Regions from separate parts of the Homo sapiens genome. Here region 2 is linked to region 1. Evidence: promoter capture Hi-C in 16 types of primary human blood cells and fetal thymus (Javierre and others, 2016). All regions are on one chromosome and are shown on one strand. The core of a region is centred on a gene start or on the middle of the fragment in contact, and the rest is flanking DNA. Distances in the headings are between cores, read along the strand shown. Region 1 holds the start of ATP6V1E1 (ATPase H+ transporting V1 subunit E1). Region 2 overlaps BID (BH3 interacting domain death agonist).

Region 1 (3,822 bases), core at 325-2,824:
TTTGAGAGGGAGTCTCGCTCTGCCGCCCAGGGTCGCTCGGCCTCCCGGGTTCACGCCATTCTCCTGCCTCAGCCTCCCGAGTAGCTGGGACTACAGGCGCCCGCCACCATGCCCGGCTAATTTTTTGTATTTTTAATAGAGATGGGGTTTCACCATGCTGGCCAGGCTCGTCTCGAACTCCTGACCTCAGGTGATCCGCCCTCCTCAGCCTCCCAAAGTGCTGGTATTACAGACGTGAGCCACCATGCCCGGCCCCAGCCTGTATCTCACAAATGTTAACACACACATTAGTGGGAGACCAATCATTACAATCCATTATGATAGAGGGGACTTCCCCAAAATGAAGATTAACAGTACATACAGGCCTGGCGCGTTGGCTCATGCCTGTAATCCCAGCACTTTGGGAGGCCCAGGTGGGAAGATCACCTGAGGTCAGGAGTTCAAGACCAGCCAGGCCAATATGGTGAGACCCTGCCTCTACTAAAAAAAATACAAAAATTAGCCGGGCTTGGGGCGCGAGTCTGTAATCCCAGCTTCTAGGGAGGCTGAGGCAGGAGAATCACTTGAACCCGGGGCGGAGGTTGCAGTGAGCCGAGATCGCGCCCTTGCACTCCAGCCTGGGCGACAGAGTGAGACTCCGTCTCAAAAAAAAAAAAAAGAAAAAAAGAAAAAAACACAGTTCATAAAGTGAACGACCTTGTCAAAACACTGGTTGGAAGCAGGTCTCTTCCCTCCGCACTGTTTCCTATCATATAGCCTTAAGCATTTCCCTCAGGGTTAAAAAAAAAAAAAGTGACAAGGCTGGTTTGTTTTTTTTTTTTCTTTTTCCAGAGGGAGTCTCGCCCTGTCGCCCATGCTGGAGTGCAAAGGCGCGATCTCGGCTAACTGCAACCTCCGCCTCCGGGTTCAGCTTCCCGAGTAGCTGGGATTACAGGCGCGCGCCACCACGTCCGGCTAATTTTCTATTTTTAGTAGAGACCGGGGTTTCACCATTTTGGCCAGGCTAGTCTCGGACTCCTGACCTCAGGTGATCCGGCCGCCTCGGCCTCCCAAAATACTGGGATTACAGGCGTGAGCCACTGCCCCTGGCCACAAGGCTGTTTTCAATCCTTGCACAGATCTCTGTCCGACTAGGCACAGTGAATACCCTTGGAAAACAGGGAATGCTGAGGTGGGAGGCAAAGAGCCAGGGCGTTCAAGAAGGCAGCGCGCAGGCAAGCGGGCAGTGCCCAAGACCCGAGCAAAAGTCACATGAGCTGCGGGGCAAATCTCCGTCCTCAGGCCGACCTCTTGGATCTGGTGACTTGGAGCAAGGGACCTTCCTGCGGCATCTGGGCGGCTCAAGGCCCGCGGCCTTCCCTAGGCGGGCTCCAGCCCACTCCCCGGGACTGCCGCCGCGGCTTCGTAAGACCCAACCAAGCCCCTCACCTGCTTTTGCACGTCAGCATCGCTGAGAGCCATGGCGAGAGCAATGCTAGGCCGGTGAACAGTAGGCTCGAGTTTAGGTTTGAAAGGTGAGGTGAGAGAAATCGGCAAAGGGAACCCCTGCGCAGATCTCGGGTTCCTTTACTTTATAACCGCGGGTTCCGGTTCCTGCCAGGTGACTGCACAGTTCATCCTCATGACCCTTCTCAGCCAATGGGAAGAGAGCGACGCCCAGGAAGTCCCGCCCTGTCCCGGCCTGTGGGCGCGTCCTCGGGTCCTTCTACGTCGCTGACTCGTGACCTGACCGGTATTTTTTTCCTAAACTGGGATCTTGGGTAGGAGGAAGAAAAGATAAGGAGTTCCTCTATCTGAAATTAGTCGGGCTGTTTTGAGGAGTACTGGTTAGGTATATTGGAGAATGTGCCTTTATTGGAATTTTTCGCATAATTACACAGGGTTATGGGCTTAGGGGTACATGATTGTTGGCCGGGCGTGGTGGCTCACGCCTGCAATCCGGAGACTTTGGGAGACCAAGGCGGGTGTATCGCTTGACCTCAAGTTCGAGACCAGGCTGGACAACATAGAGGAACCCCGTCTCTACCAAAAGAAAAAAAAAAGGGGGATACATGATTTCTGACTATTCATGTCAACCTTGATTACCTGAATAAAGTGTAGGGTTTGTAGGTTTCTCCACTCTGAAGTTACCTTTTTTAACCCCCTTTCCATACTGTAGTCTTAGGAAGGAAGCCACTATACAAAGCCCACACCTAGGGAGTGGGAAGCTATGCTCAACTTCCTTATTAGGGTGGAGCAGCTACATAATTTATTTGGAACTTTTCTGAGATAGCCTATATATTTTTCAAAAGCCTTCCCAGGTCCCATTTAGAGGAATATTAGGACAGAAATCCCCCCAGGCTCATTTGTTTTTATTTGGATTTACCTCAAGCCCGTTTTTTTCCCCAAAATCCCAAAGGCAAAAACTTTTGAAAATTCCTTTATCTTTAGGATAGACTGACTCCTAATAGTAGAATAAGAGGTCAAATGGTACACCCACTTTTTTCTTTTTACTGTGCTATGGTTACCCACCATTTTTATTAGCTTTTTATCTTGAAGAAATTTGAGATATAGTAACTTGTAAGAATACTGCATTGACCTCCCTTCACCTAGATTCAACAATTGTTAACATTTTGCTACATGTACATTAACACTTTATTTTCATACACACACACACACACACACACACACACACTTCCTATTTTAGTGTGTCATAAGAACGAGGATGTAGCAAATTCAGGAAATTTAGTTTACTAGGCTGAACATTAATTTCCTTTGTCCCGGGCCAGGCGCGGTGTCTCACGCCTGTAATCCCACCACTTTGGGAGGCTGAGGTGGGCAGATCACCTGAGGTCGGGATTTCGAGACCAGCCTGACCAACATGGAGAAACCCCAGTCTCTACTAAAAATACAAAATTAACAGGCGTGGTGGTGTGTGCCTGTAATCCCAGCCACTGGAGAGGCTGAGGCAGGAGAATTGCTTCAACCCAGGAGCAGAGGTTGCGGTGAGCCAAGATCGTGCCACTGCACTCCAGCCTGGGCAATAAGAGTGAGACTCCGTCTCAAAAAAACAAAAAAAAAAAAAACAAATTCCTTTGTCCCATCAATCCATCAATGTACTTTATAACCCTTTCTTTTTTTTTTGAGACAGAGTCTCACTCTGTCGCCCAGGCTGCAGTGCAACGGCATGGTGTCAGCTCACTACAACCTCTGCCTCCCGGGATCAAGTGATTCTCCTCCCTCAGCCTCCCAAGCAGCTGGGATTACAGGTGCCTGCCACCATGCATGGCTAATTTTTGTATTTTTAGTAGAGATGAGGTTTCACTGTGTTGGCCAGGCTGGTCTTGAACTGCTGACCTCGTGATCCACCTGCCTCGGCCTCCGAGAGTGCTGGGATTACAGGTGTGAGCCACTGCACCCGGCCTTCTTTTTCTTTTCTTTTTTTTTTTTTTTTTGAGATGGAGTCTCGCTCTGTTGCCCAGGCTAGAGTGCAGTGGCAGAATCTCGGCTCACCACAACCTCCGCCTCCCGGGTTCAATTGATTCTCCTGCCTCAGCCTCCCCAGTAGCTGAGATTACAGGCATCTGCCACCACGCCCAGCTAATTTTTGCATTTTTAGTAGAGATGGGGTTTCAACACATTGGCCAGGGTGGTCTTGAACTCCCGACCTCAGGTGATCTGCCTGCCTCCACCTCCCAAAGTGCTGGGATTACAGACGTGAGCCACCGCGCCCAGCCATAACCTTTTTTTAATAACCTTACTTTTTAACCTTTTATAACCTTCTTATAACCTTACTTTATAACCTTTATAACCTGGATTGGATCCAGGGTCACTTACTGCATT
Region 2 (3,387 bases), core at 1-2,500, 140 kb after region 1:
GGCCTTTCTGAATTACAACTTCAGCCCCAGGGCAAGAGTAAACACAGAAACTGGAAAAGTCCCTGGACCAGGTGTCAAAGAGGTATCCTTCCCGGTGGACACAAAATTCTGAATTGAATTGAGCTCAAAAGAGGCTAAGGACACAGAGAACGAAGTCTGATCATCCAGATTCTCCGTATCTGACCACAGAGAACTGATCTCTGTCATCCGCCTACAAAGATGAGCAAAACAATATGACCACAAACCAATGCTCAATCACTGATGCCACCAAGCCATGGGTAAGCCCGAAACCAACAGAACACAGAGTCAGGGGCAGGGGAAACAGAGACACGGAGAGAAAACGGAGAAACAGCGTCCGCGAAGTGAAAAGTTCCATTGCTGCTTGAATTTGCCTCTGGTAGCCAAGAAAAGGCCAGCACTGTGGGAGGCCAAGGCAGGAGGATCACTTGAGCCCAGGAGTTTGAGGCAAACCTGGGCAACACAGTGAGACCCTGTCTCTACAAAAAATACAAAATAAAAAATGAAGGAAACATTGACACCTACTGTAACATGAGTTACAGCAGTTAACATGAGTTGAAAATATGCTACATGAAAGAAGTCAGTCACAAAAGACCACGTAGTGTGTGATTCCATTAGTATGAAATGTCCTAAATGTGCAACTCCATAGACAGAAAGATTAGGGCTGCCAGGGCTGCGGAGCAGCCACCAGTGTGTCTGGAGCTTCTCTTTGGGTTACTGAAATGTTCTGCCTGTAGGCGGTGGTGACGGTCGCACACCGTGTATATACTAAGCCACTGAACTGTGCCCTTTGATGGGTGAATTTTATGGCATGTGCAGTATGTCTCAATCAAACGGTTTTTGAAAAGGCAGCCAGCAGGAGGAGACATGAGGAGGCAAGAGCCTCTTCAGGTGACTGGGGCCCCCTCCCAGAGGTCGGAGGCTCCACCACAGGCCCCAGAAGTCAGTGGACCCCTATGCTCCAGGTCTTTGTGACCCGGGAGTCCTGCCTCCCTCCCCTGCCCAGGCCCTGGGCTTCTGGGTGGGGCATGGTGGATGGCAGGGGAAGGCAGGTGTCCCTCAGCTACTCCAGAATCCCTGGTGAGCCTCTGGTGAGCCTCCTGGTCCGCCCCTCCCTGAACTCTCTGTAGACTCTGTCATAAAGAACAAGGCTGGGCCGCAAGGTGGCTCACGCCTGTAATCCCAGCACTTTGGGAGGCCGAGGCGGGTGGATCACGAGGTCAGGAGATCGAGACCATCCTGGCTAACACGGTGAAACCCCTTCTCTACTAAAAATAGAAAAAATTAGCCGGCATGGTGGTGGGCACCTGTAGTCCCAGCTACTCGGGAAGCTGAGGCAGGAGAATGGCGTGAAACTCGGGAGGCAGAGCTTGCAGTGAGCCGAGATCGCGCCACTGCACTCTAGCCTGGGCGACAGAGCGAGACTCCGTCTCAAAAAAAAAAAAAAAAAAAATTAGCCGGGCGTGGTGGTGGGCGCCTGTAGTCCCAGCTACTCAGGAGGCTGAGACAGGAGAATGGCGTGAACCTGGGAGGCGGAGCTTGCAGGGAGCAGAGATCGTGCCACTGCACTCCAGCCTGGGCGACAGAGTGAGACTCGTCTCAAAAATAAATAAATAAATAAATAAATAAATAAATAATAACTAAATAAATAAAGAACAAGGCTTTCACCACATCCCAGGCAGAGTCCAAGTCAGGGCAGAGCCTCACAGAGCACAGCAGGGCCTGTGCCGTGCCAACGCCATGCCCCTGCCTGGCAGAAATGCCACCCAGCCCCTGGCAGAAACGCCTCCCCTCTCCTATGGAGGGGCTGATGACCCAGGAGCGGCTGGCTGCTGGTGTGAGTACACGGGTGACCCTTCCACAAAGGCCCCTAGCTGGGCTCCCTGCTCAGTTGGCCGGGTTTGGGGCTGGATGTCTGCAGGGGTCCTCAGGGATACCCAGAGGGAGAAACAAGGCTTTTGGGGAAATGGTGACACCTGGGGCCAGGTTTCTCACAGCCAGGCCCCATCTCTCCCTGCCTGGATTTCAGGGGAAGTGGGGCTTGGGTAAACAGGAACGGACGTGGCCATCAGGCCGGAAGGGTGTGTGGGCCACAGAGAAGCACCCTGAGGCTGTGCTGTCATCCAGAGTGCCACCCCGCTTTTCCAGGGCACAGCAAGGAAGTGCCTGCTGGAAGGATCCTGGGGACAGTTGTTAAGGCAATTTTATCTTCTCATAGCATGCCTGCCTCAGTTCCGCAGCCAGGACGGTGCCTTACTGACTCCACACACAGAGGCAGCTGGGTCCAGGAGGCAGCCATCCCAAACGCAGTGACCTCCAGCACCCAAAGCTCAGAGTTCCCAGCTGAACCCAGGAGGCACCCACCTTCCTGTCTCTAGGCAGATGCCAGCTGGTGCAGGAGCCACTCCCAGTCCCAATACCAGGCCTGGTCACGTGGTGCCCCGCCAGGCTTGGGGGTGTGCACTTGCCCGCTGGCCTCCGGTGCCCTCAGGCCTAGCCTCATTGTCACAGGAACGGAGCTCCTCGGGGATGGCCACCTTCCTGGACTTACCCCCAGGAGGGACACGCTGCTGCCTCCCAGGGCCCTTCGTGCCACTGGCCCCTTTCTTTCCACCCCCATATGCTACCCCTGCCTACTCCCTTCCCTGGCCCTGGGTTGCCACTCCTGTCCTGTTCTCCTGCTGTCCCCACCCCAGCCCTGACCCCAGATGGCTCTCCCTACAAAAACACCAGAACCCCAGAGAAGCTCAATCCCCCAAGTCCATCTGCATTTTAAGAAGCCCTCACGCACTCCCAGCCCAGAGAGGGAAGCTGTAAAGGTGGACAGGTCATGTCGGGCTTTGAACCTGCAATGTGATCTCACCTTCCCCGTCTGTAAAAGGGGACACTCCCTGCCTTGTGGGATCACATGCAGTATCAGAAAAAGCACCTGACATGTGACATCCACTTACAAAGGGTTTTCCCTTCTCTTTGGTTTTGGGGGAGAATGGGAGAGGCCCAAGCAGAAGCTCCTGGAACACCGCCCATCCCGGACCCAGGGTTGTAGTCACCTGAACACTCACCCAGACAAGGGAAACTTCACAGAATGAATGTGAGGAATAAAATGAGACATTCAGTTACACAAATTAAACCAAACCCAGATGCAGAGGTGCCCCATAACAGAAATAGAGCAACTACTGCCAGCCTTGGATGAAAGCTCTTGGCCAAGGGCCGTGACGGCGGCGGGGAGGTTCAGCAGCTGTCCCCAAGCACACAGGACATTTGGCACCTCCAAGCCCAGCCTGTCCCACCAGGCCACGGCACACTTTCCTTCCTCTGAAGAAAGGGGGTTTGTTAAGCCAACGAGGAGGGAAGCCAAGGACTGCCCCC

Evidence for each region. The method cuts DNA at HindIII sites, captures the fragments that hold promoters and counts their contacts. A CHiCAGO score of 5 or more calls a contact.
Region 2: a fragment that was not itself captured here is called in contact with the fragment with the promoter of ATP6V1E1 in region 1 in 1 of 17 cell types (neutrophils); the score reaches 6.5 in neutrophils.

The regions. Positions count from the first base shown.
Region 1 is chr22:17,627,175-17,630,996 of GRCh38, forward strand. It overlaps ATP6V1E1 (ATPase H+ transporting V1 subunit E1), which reads right to left and starts at 1,575. Exons shown (of 9, transcript NM_001696.4): 1 at 1,429-1,575. The coding sequence starts at 1,461. It also overlaps a transcript of BCL2L13 not described here. RefSeq lists enhancers at 1,270-1,419, 1,500-1,589, 1,531-1,700. The HindIII fragment of the contact is 8,319 bases long and covers 1-3,822 here.
Region 2 is chr22:17,767,422-17,770,808 of GRCh38, forward strand. All of the region lies in intron 1 of BID (BH3 interacting domain death agonist), which reads right to left. Among named protein-coding and RNA genes, the nearest start is that of MIR3198-1, 4.9 kb to the left of the region's middle. RefSeq lists enhancers at 903-952, 973-1,022, 1,093-1,152. The HindIII fragment of the contact is 6,348 bases long and covers 1-3,387 here.